Regions from separate parts of the Homo sapiens genome. Here region 2 is linked to region 1. The links are contacts of gene promoters, found by promoter capture Hi-C in blood cells and fetal thymus (Javierre and others, 2016). All regions are on one chromosome and are shown on one strand. The core of a region is centred on a gene start or on the middle of the fragment in contact, and the rest is flanking DNA. Distances in the headings are between cores, read along the strand shown.

What was found. Contacts are between HindIII fragments. The CHiCAGO score rates a contact against its expected background, and 5 or more counts as called.
Region 2: a contact is called between a fragment that was not itself captured here and the fragment with the promoter of PRAF2 in region 1, in 1 of 17 cell types (total CD8 T cells). The highest score is 5.3, in total CD8 T cells.

What each region holds. Positions count from the first base shown.
Region 1 is chrX:49,072,016-49,075,251 of GRCh38, reverse strand. PRAF2 (PRA1 domain family member 2) reads left to right here and starts at 1,250. Exons shown (of 3, transcript NM_007213.3): 1 at 1,250-1,443; 2 at 2,602-2,819. The coding sequence starts at 1,265. WDR45 (WD repeat domain 45) reads left to right here. Exons shown (of 11, transcript NM_001029896.2): 10 at 1-116; 11 at 340-810. The coding sequence ends at 449. RefSeq lists a silencer at 968-1,067. The HindIII fragment of the contact is 3,027 bases long and covers 754-3,236 here.
Region 2 is chrX:48,924,326-48,930,909 of GRCh38, reverse strand. It overlaps OTUD5 (OTU deubiquitinase 5), which reads left to right. Exons shown (of 9, transcript NM_001136157.2): 6 at 4,860-5,063. Among named protein-coding and RNA genes, the nearest start is that of PIM2, 8.6 kb to the right of the region's middle. RefSeq lists enhancers at 2,815-3,453, 6,393-6,584. The HindIII fragment of the contact is 737 bases long and covers 3,198-3,934 here.

The sequences.
Region 1 (3,236 bases), core at 1-2,500:
GATTGGGCAGTACGTGGACTCTCAGTGGAGCCTGGCGAGCTTCACTGTGCCTGCTGAGTCAGCTTGCATCTGCGCCTTCGGTCGCAATACTTCCAAGAACGTCAACTCTGTCATTGGTGAGTGGGAACAGCCCCTTGGTTGGGGGTACTGCATGGGGCAAAGGCCTGCAGGTTGGACCTGAAAGGATTTTAGGGCCATGTGAGGCTCAGCTTCATCATCAGTAAGGGGGACAGCACTGGGCAAAGGCCTGGAGGCAGACCCTAGGTCCTGAGATGCCTGAGAGGACTGGAGCCTGTGGCTGTGGCAGCCTCTGACCTTTTACCACCCCCCCTCCCCCAGCCATCTGCGTAGATGGGACCTTCCACAAATATGTCTTCACTCCTGATGGAAACTGCAACAGAGAGGCTTTCGACGTGTACCTTGACATCTGTGATGATGATGACTTTTAAGGACCCTGGGGGCTGTGCTAGGGACCTGCAGTGGCAGAACTGCAGAGCTGAGCCTTGGCAGTGGGGCGTGCTTGGAAGCCACCAGCCAGCAAGCATTAATGGGGCTGGTGCCCACTTTCCACTCAGCAGAGCTATGTCTAAATAAAGAGCTCACTTCCCCCCAGCACTTCTTGATGACTGTGTGCCCCAAGGGCCAGGCCAGAGACCCAGGAAGGCAGCGACCCCTTGGGATCCCTAACCTGGAGGAAATTGCCAGGGACCCAGAGGGAGTGCCCTAATCCAACCTGGGGATTTTTTAAAAGCTTCCTAGGAAGAGATGATCTCCGATGTGATGAATACGAATAAAAGGCCCTTAATGGCATTTACGGCTTGACCTCAGGGGCGGGGCATGGAGTTTCCTGGAGAAATGTGACCCTCTTGGGCGCTGACAGGAAGGAGGTGGAATCCAACTCGGATCCTTGTGACAGTCCCTCCTTTCTTATCTGTCTGGCTACTTTGTGCTTGAGCCGCTGGCACCGCCCGGAGCAGCCCCTGCGGCGCCCCGCGCGGGGGTGGATGGCAGTTTTAAGGGTTGGGAGCATCTCGCTTCGTGGCAAAGGCTTGATTTCCCGGCAGCCTTTGCTGCTTTCCTGAGCGGCGTGTTAGTTGCTTTTCCGGTCACGTGCATCGCCGCCCCTGCGCAATCCACCTAGGAGGTTAGGAAAAAGCTGCCCAGCCCAGACTCCATTTCCCGGTGTGCCCCGCGGTGGCGAGGGGCGTAACGGTTGTTGTAGTCCGGCCCCCTCCTGGCTGGTCCAGCCACATTAACCGGCAGGATGTCGGAGGTGCGGCTGCCACCGCTACGCGCCCTGGACGACTTTGTTCTGGGGTCGGCGCGTCTGGCGGCTCCGGATCCATGCGACCCGCAGCGATGGTGCCACCGCGTCATCAACAACCTCCTCTACTACCAAACCAACTACCTTCTCTGCTTCGGCATCGGCCTCGCTCTCGCCGGGTGAGGGAGGGAGGCGCCGGTTGGCCAGGGACGTCTGCAGAGCGTGGGGGTAGACCCACAGGTCTTTGAGGACCAGGACGGGGAACCTGAGGGGGGTGCAAGGCCGGGAAGGGCGAAGTCAGTAGAGATGGACGGCCTGAGGGGCTTGGAAGGGGGGCCTTGAAGGAGGTGGAGCCTAGTTATAAGGAGGGCCTCAGGGAGATGGAGCCTGGCTGATGAGGAGGGCCTGCGGGGGATGGGGGTCTGCAAGGAAGATATGGGGAGGATGGAGACAAGTGTGGGACTGAAGGGGAAAGTGGGCTGGAAGGTGAACCGGAAAAAAAGGAGGGCCCGAAAGGGGGACATGAGAGTACTTGAGGGGCGTAGGGGGGGTGTGATGTGAATGATGGGGCCAGATTGAGGCCGACCCTGGAGTACTTAGGGCAGAGACCGGGAAATAGACGGTAAAGTTGGAGGGTTTGGAAGATGTATTTATTGGGGATCCGGTCTTGGAGGGGAGCCTGGCTATGATTGGAAGGCGCCAGGGGCAGGTACCTGTTGGGGAACTTGGGCCCAGGAGGAGGATCCATGGTTGGAAAGCCTGAGACCAGAGAGGGATGGAGAATCTGGAGGAAGGACTTGAGCAGTGCTGAAAGTTCAGAGTGGGGCTGACGACCTGGAAGAGGTCCTAGCAATGATGGAGGGAGGAATCTATAGGGAAATGGGAGCCTGGAGGGCGGTTCTATAAGGACCCTAGGCCTGGGGAGAGGGGAACGTGTGAAGACAGAAGGCCTGAAAGAGGGATTTGCAGGGGCTGGTGTTAAAGGGGGAGCTTGCGGGCAGGCTGATGAGGGGCCCTACGGGGGCAGAGTCGGAAGGAAAGTCCAGGGAAGTGTTGGGAGCCCGGGGGTGTGGGGAGTGTCTAGCAGGATGGGAGGGCCTGAAGCGGGGACCTGAGGAAGACAGGACAGTGGAATTGACAAGGAGGAAAGGAGGGGTCTACAAGGGTGAGTCGGGAGCCCTGGCAGATGGGCCTGCTGGAGATAGGGCTGGTGGGAGGATGTGCCAGGCTGGAGTGTCCGGAGACGGGAGACCCTGGCTCTTGGGGCCCAGGGTGGGTGGTGGTCCGGAGGCCGTCTCTCCGCCCGGCCGGCTAGCTTGGTTCCCTTGTACCCGCAGGTACGTGCGGCCACTTCATACGCTCCTGAGCGCGCTGGTAGTGGCGGTGGCCCTCGGCGTGCTGGTGTGGGCAGCTGAGACCCGCGCAGCTGTGCGCCGCTGCCGCCGCAGCCACCCTGCAGCCTGCCTGGCCGCAGTGCTTGCCGTCGGCCTCCTGGTGCTCTGGGTCGCGGGCGGCGCTTGCACCTTCCTGTTCAGCATCGCCGGGCCGGTGCTTCGTGAGTCTCCACTACCCCGAGATAGCCAGGAAAGCAGCCAGAGCATGCTTAAGGCACCAGGCCAGCCCTGCCGGTCCCCGGGTTGAGAGGGGGCTGGGAAACCCGAGGGCCTCGCCACGCCCCCGCTAAAAGCGCCTTCCCGGGCTTCGTTCCCCCTTCTGGGAACACCCCTTTTATTATCGCCTTTCCTATCTCACTCTTGGTGTTAAGTGCCTTCCACTGGCCACGTCCCCGTTACCGGGCGTCTTCCCTGGCCATGCCCACGTTGCCAAGCCAATTACTCGGCCACGCTTTCAGTATCTGAGGCGTCCTGGCTGCTCACCACTCCATTGGCCTGCCTGCGCGCCAATTCCCTTCGGTGGGCCCCGGTTGGCTGCAGGCTGAGGTCTATTCCACTGACCACCCCTCTCGGTGCCG
Region 2 (6,584 bases), core at 2,317-4,816, 150 kb after region 1:
GCTCACTGCAACCTCTGCCTCCCAGGTTCAAGCGATTCTCCTGCCTCAGCCTCCCGAGTAGCTGGGATTACAGGCATGCGCCACCACACCCAGCTGTTTTTTGTATTGTTTAGTAGAGATGGGGTTTCACCATGTTGGGCAGGCTGAAGTCTCGAACTCCTGACCTCAGGTGATCCACCCTCCTCGGTCTCCCAAAGTGCAGGGATTACAGGTGTGAGCTACTGCGCCCAGCTCAATCAGCCATTTCTTTAGAGAGCCCTGGCATGTATTGGAGACTGTTAACAGAAATCAAGACCTAGGTGTTGAATGTGCTCTTCGATATCAGGTTGTCCATGCTTCTAGGCCCTGTCAGCTGATAGAGCAAGGAGCTACATGTATGTATAGTGGCCTTTGTACACATATCTATAAATATTTCTACCTGTAACCATCTGTATTTATATTAAACATGAATCCTTACTGATGTCTCCAACTCAGATCCATTATCACATGCTTCATTCTAGCCTTCTCCCCTTGTTCATCTGCAAATTCCCTCTCCAACAGTAGATACGCCATCAGATGTATATGCACTGGTTCCTACCATCCATTTATGTAACTGCTCATTTCCATATACACGCGTAGCAGAATCACACTTGTTCACCCGTACCCCCGTGGGAAACAACTTTATCACTATAGCTCAATGCTACATATAGTTCTTTTTTGCCTTTGGTGTTACAGACTCCATTCATTTTGAAAGTGACCTACTTGTACCCCCACCCCCTTCAAATGAGGGTGTTTATTTTTATTTTATTTTATTATTATTATTTTTTGAGACAGAGTCTCGCTCTGTCGCCCAGGCTGGAGTGCAGTGGCGTGATCTCGGCTCACAGCAAGCTCCACCTCCCAGGTTCACACCATTCTCCTGCCTCAGCCTCCCGAGAAGCTGGTACTACAGGTGCCTGCCACCACACCTGGCTAATTTTTTGTATTTTTAGTAAGAGACGGGGTTTCACCGTCTTAGCCAGGATGGTCTCAATCTCCTGACCTCGTGATCCGCCCGCCTCGGCCTCCCAAAGTGCTGGGATTACAGGCGTGAGCCACCGCGCCCGGCCAAGGTTGTTTCATGTTTGTAATACATTTGTATTATTTTGTCACATTTTTGCATTCTATGCTGGGATCTCAGATCTCCTAATTTTTTATTTATTTATTTTTGAGACAGAGTCTCACTGTCGCCCAGGCTGGAGTGCAGTGGTGCGATGATCTCAACTCACCGCAGCCTCTACCTCCTGGGTTCAAGCAATTCTCGTGCCTCAGCCTCCCGAGTAGCTGGAATTACAGGCATGCACTACCACACCTGGCTAATTTTTGTATTTTTAGTAGAGACGGGGTTTCATCATGTTGCCCAGGCTGGTCTCGAACTCCTGACTTCAGGTGATCTGCCTGCCTCGGCCTCCCAAAGTGCTGGGATTACAGGCATGAGCCACCGCGCTGGCCATAGATCTCCTAATTTTTATTTTATTTTATTTTATTTATTTATTTATTTTTTGAGACAGAGTCTTGCTCTGTCACCCAGGCTGGAGTACAGTGGTGCGATCTCGGCTCACTGCAACCTCAGCCTCCGTGGTTCAAGTGATTCTCTTGCCTCTGCCTCCCGAGTAGCTGGGATTACAGGCACGCGCCACCACGCCCAGCTAATTTTTTTGATTTTTAGTAGAGACAGGTTTCACCATATTGGCCAGGCTGGTCTCGAACTCCTGACCTCAGGAGATCCACCCACCTTGGCCTCCCAAAGTGCTGGAATTACAGGCATGAGCCACCGTGCCCAGCCTTCCTAATTTTTTTTTAAATAGCATATATTAAGGTCCACTCTTTGTGTTGTACATTCTATGGGTTTTGACAAATGTGTAATGTTATGTATCTACTATTACAGTATTATTCAGAATAGTTTGACCACCCTTAAAATTCCTCATACTCCATATGCTTACCCCTCCCTTCCTCCCTCTTCCTGCAAACACTATTGTCTTTGTGGGTTGCCTTTTTCAGAATGTCATATAATTGTAATCATACAGTATGTAGCCTTTTCATACTGTTTTTTTTTTTTTTTTTTGAGACAGTGTATCACTGTTGCCCAGGCTGGAGTGCAGTGGCACAATATCACTGCAGCCTTTACCTCCTGGGTTTAAGCAATCCTCCCACCTCAGCCTCCCAAGTAGCTGGGACCACAGGCACACACCACCATGCCTGGCTAACTTTAAAAATATTTTTATTTTGTAGAGACAGGATCTCACTGTGTTGCTCAGGCCAATCTCAAATTCCTGGGGACAAGTGATCCTCCCGCCTTGGCCTCTCAAAGTGCTGGTATTGCAGGGGTGAGCCACCTGCAGCCAATTTGCTTTTTTCCCCCCTGAAATTAAAATGGTCAATGTGACAGACTGCTTCTTTTCACTTAGCAGTATGCATTAAGGTTTCTCCATGTTCTTTCATGGCTTGTTAGCTGGTTTCTTTCTTATCACTTAATGTTCCTTTTATGGAGGTACCAGTTTAATTATTCACCTATTAAAAGACATTCTTGGTTGCTTCCAGTTTTTGATGATTATGAATAAAGCTTCTGTAATGTGCATGCAGGTTTTTTTGTGGACGTAATTTTTTAGATCAGTTGTATACATACCTGGGAGCAAGATTGCTGGATTGCGTTGTAAGATTATGTTTTGATTTATGAGGAACTGAGAAACTGTCTTCCCAAGTGGCTGTATTATTTGCATGCCCACCATAATGATTTGGAAGTTCCTGTTGTCAGCATTACCAGCAATTGATACTGTCATTGTGTTGGATTTTAGCCATTCTCTTAGGTGTGTAGTGGTATCTCATTATTTTAACTTGCAGTTGCCTATTGGCAAATGCTGTTGAGCATCTTTTCATATGCTTATTTGCCATCTGTATAGCTTCTTTGGTGAATTGTGTTTGTGACTTCCTGACATACAATTCCTAAAATCCTTAGAATCTGCAAAGTGTTGCCTTTTTGTATGCTAATGAGGTGACTGATGGCTGGCAGCCTCTAGGTAGCTTCAGGATGGGGGCTGGTGACCTGAAAGACCAAGGCAGGATTAGAGGTTTGCAACTTTAAGCCCATCCCCCAGCCTTTGGGGAGGGGAGAGAGGCTGAAGATTAGGTTGATCACTAGTGTCCAATGGCATAATCAATAATGCCTGCATAATGAAGCTTCCAAAGAATCCCAAAAGGATTGGGTTCTGGGAGCTTTTGGGTAGCTGAATACATGGAAGTTTCTAGAGGGTGGCACCCCAGGGAGGGCATGGAAGCTCCACGTCCCTTCCCCCATATCTCACTCTGTGCATCTCATCTGTATCCTTTGTAATTTTCTCTATAATAAACTGGCAGACGTGTTTCCTGGGTTTTGTGAGCTGCTCTAGCAAGTTAGTTGAACCCCCAAAAAAGTATTGTGGGAATCCCAATTTATAGCTGGTCAGTCAGAAATTCTGGAGGCCCAGACTTTCGACTGGTGTTCGAAGGGGGTTGGGGGGAGTCTTGTGGGACTGAGCCCTCAACCTGTGGGATCCCAGGCTGTCTCTGGGTATTGAATTGCATTGGAGGATGGACACCAGGTGTCCGCTGCTTGCTGTGTGGGAAAACACCCTCCCCCCAGCCCGCACACTTGGTCACAGAAGTCTCCTGTGTTGATTGTTGTTGAGTGAGAGTAGAAAAAACACTTGGAGTGTGTTTAACACTGCCAGAGTGGTTAGATTTTTTGACTATTTTTTTAATTGGCTTGTTCTAACATAGTTTTACGAATTGTTTTTAACTATTCACAGTAAAAAATTACATTTTATCTGAATGCAAGGTCTGCAGGAAAAAGAAAAGAATACATTTTACATGATTACTTAGCATATATGCATTTGTGTGTGATGTGTATATGTGCATTAAAATAATGTTAACTAAAGCTTCATGAAACAACATTTGCACTTATTCCCTGGGATATATTCTGATATTTTCTATTTTTTAAAAATGCTGTTGGATCTCAGCCTGAAAAACAGTACTCTGATGTAGTGTCCTGTAACTCATAGCACCCCACACCATGTTGATACTGCCCCCTTATTCCCTCACACACCCACTACTTCCCCCAACCCCTCACATGCTTGAATACTCCCTCCACCCGGTGCACACATAGCTAATTTTTGTATGTGTCTCATCTGCTCATGTGTGTGAAAGTCCTCAACATTATGAAACAGTCATCACTGGATGGGGCTTCTTTAAATTAAGGCCCAGGGCCAGGTGCAGTGGCTCACACCTATAATCCCAGCACTTTGGGAGGCCGAGTCGGGTGGATCACCTGAGGTCAGGAGTTCAAGGCCAGCCTGGCCAACATGGTGAAACCCCATTTCTACTAAAAATACAAAAAAGTTAGCCGGGGGTGGTGGCACTCACCTGTAATCCCAGCTACTTGGGAGGCTGAGGCTGGAGAATCCCTTGAACCTGGGAGGCGGAGGTTGCAGTGAGCCGAGATTACCCCACTGCACTCCAGCCTGGGCGACAGAGCGATACTTCGTCTCAGAAAAAAAAAAAAAAATAAGTCCCAGGTTGGAAGGCACCTGACTGCTCCAGTCTCAGTGCCTCAGTTGAGGTGGTTTGGGGGTTAGAGTCAGGTCTTACAAGCATAGGAGTTTGGAATGACAGGTCCCACATCCCAAGCCTGCTTTCCCTTGGTCCCCAATCAAGAGGTAGTCTGTGGAGTGTTGCTCTTTGGGAGTACCTGCTTTCCTGTCTCCTTTTTTTTCTGGGGCCTGTGGGCCTACCTCGCTGAGCCTGTTCTGGCTCTTGGGCAGGTTCAGTGTGTTATTGCACATCCCTGTTCCTCTCCCTCCTTGCAGTTTGCAGAGCAGTCTCTGATGAAGAATGCCATAAAAACATCGGAGGAGTCATGGATTGAACAGCAGATGCTAGAAGACAAGAAACGGGCCACAGACTGGGAGGCCACAAATGAAGCCATCGAGGAGCAGGTGGCTCGGGAATCCTACCTGCAGTGGTTGCGGGATCAGGAGAAACAGGCTCGCCAGGTCCGAGGCCCCAGCCAGGTGGGTCATGGACTCTGTCACAGGCTTGGCCAAAAACTCATTACTTCTCATGCTTTGCCCTCAAGCGAGCAGAAAAAAATTAAGCAGTTTTGACATCTGGGAGGGAAGGAAGCATCCAGCACCATCTGTAACTCATCTTGGTCTTAGTTTTGGCATTGTACCTTGGAACTTTAAATACTTGTGCAGAACAGGCACTTAAGGAGTGAGAGGAGGGCAGCCATGCTGCTGGTGACACGAGAATAATGGATAGCTTCAGAGACACAAGCTTTTGTTGACTGCCCTTGTGTGCCAGGTCTCTACTGAGAATGTAACATCAGATCTGGACTACTCTGCCCTCAACGATCTCGTCTGTTGGCAGAGACAACTCAATGGTGGGGTCCTTGACCCTGACTGGGAGATCAGTGGAGGTGGGGGCTCCGGTTAGTCTTCACAGAGGAAGGTTGAATTGTTAGGGGAGCGGGGAGGGGCGGGGCAGACAAGCATCTGAGGAATTGTAAAATCGCAAGGAGTTTGGAGTGATTGTAGATGTTGGCTGGCAGGAGCTGAGTTTTTTTTTTTTTTTTTTTTTGGAGACAGAGTCTTGCTCTGTCGCCCAGGCTGGAGTGCAGTGGCGCAGTCTCGGCTCACTGCAAGCTCCGCCTCCCAGGTTGATGCCATTCTCCTGCCTCAGCCTGCGGAGTAACTAGGACTACAGGCGCCCACCACCACGCCTGGCTAATTTTTTGTATTTTTAGTAGAGACGGGGTTTCACCGTGTTAGCCAGGATGGTCTCCATCTCCTGACCTCGTGATCCGACCACCTCGGCCTCCCAAAGTGCTGGGATTACAGGCGTGAGCCACCGCACCCGGCTGAAGGAGCTGAGTTTTATTCCACAAATACCTACTACCAGTCTGTGGCAGGCCCTGTTTTCAGTATATGGGGATACATAGGTGAGCCCAGCAGACCAAGATCCCCGTCCTTGTGATGTTCACAGTTTTGCAGAGTGAAATAAAATAATAAATATAATGAATAAATTAGTTGGGAAGTGCTATGGATGGAAAGTGTAGAGCCAGGATAAAGGGGCTGAGCAGGAATGTGCGTTCACGGTATGAAATAGCGCAGTCAGGGTAGGCCTCAGAGCAGGTGAGATTTGAGCCTTGCAGAAGGTGAGAGTTAGCTGAGCGCACATGGAGGGGAGGACAGCAGGCCCACACACCTGGTACAACTCAGGCACAGCCCAGAGGGAGGCCGGTGTATCCGAACAGAATGTAGTAGTAGATGAAGTCAGAGAGGTTGTGGGTCCAATTGGGTAGGGGCTTGTGGGCTGTGGCGAGGACTTTGGCATTTACTCTCAGAGAGGCAGAAACCATGGGAGGATTGTGAGCAGAGGACGGACAGGATGTGGTTGGGGATTTAATAAGATCGCCTTGCCTGCTAGTCATCCAGTGGAGTCTGGTGAGTGAGGGCAGAAGCAGGGGCCAGTGAGGAGGAGGCTACTGCAGTAGGCCAGGTGACTGGTGGCCAGTGCTGGCAGTGGAGTTG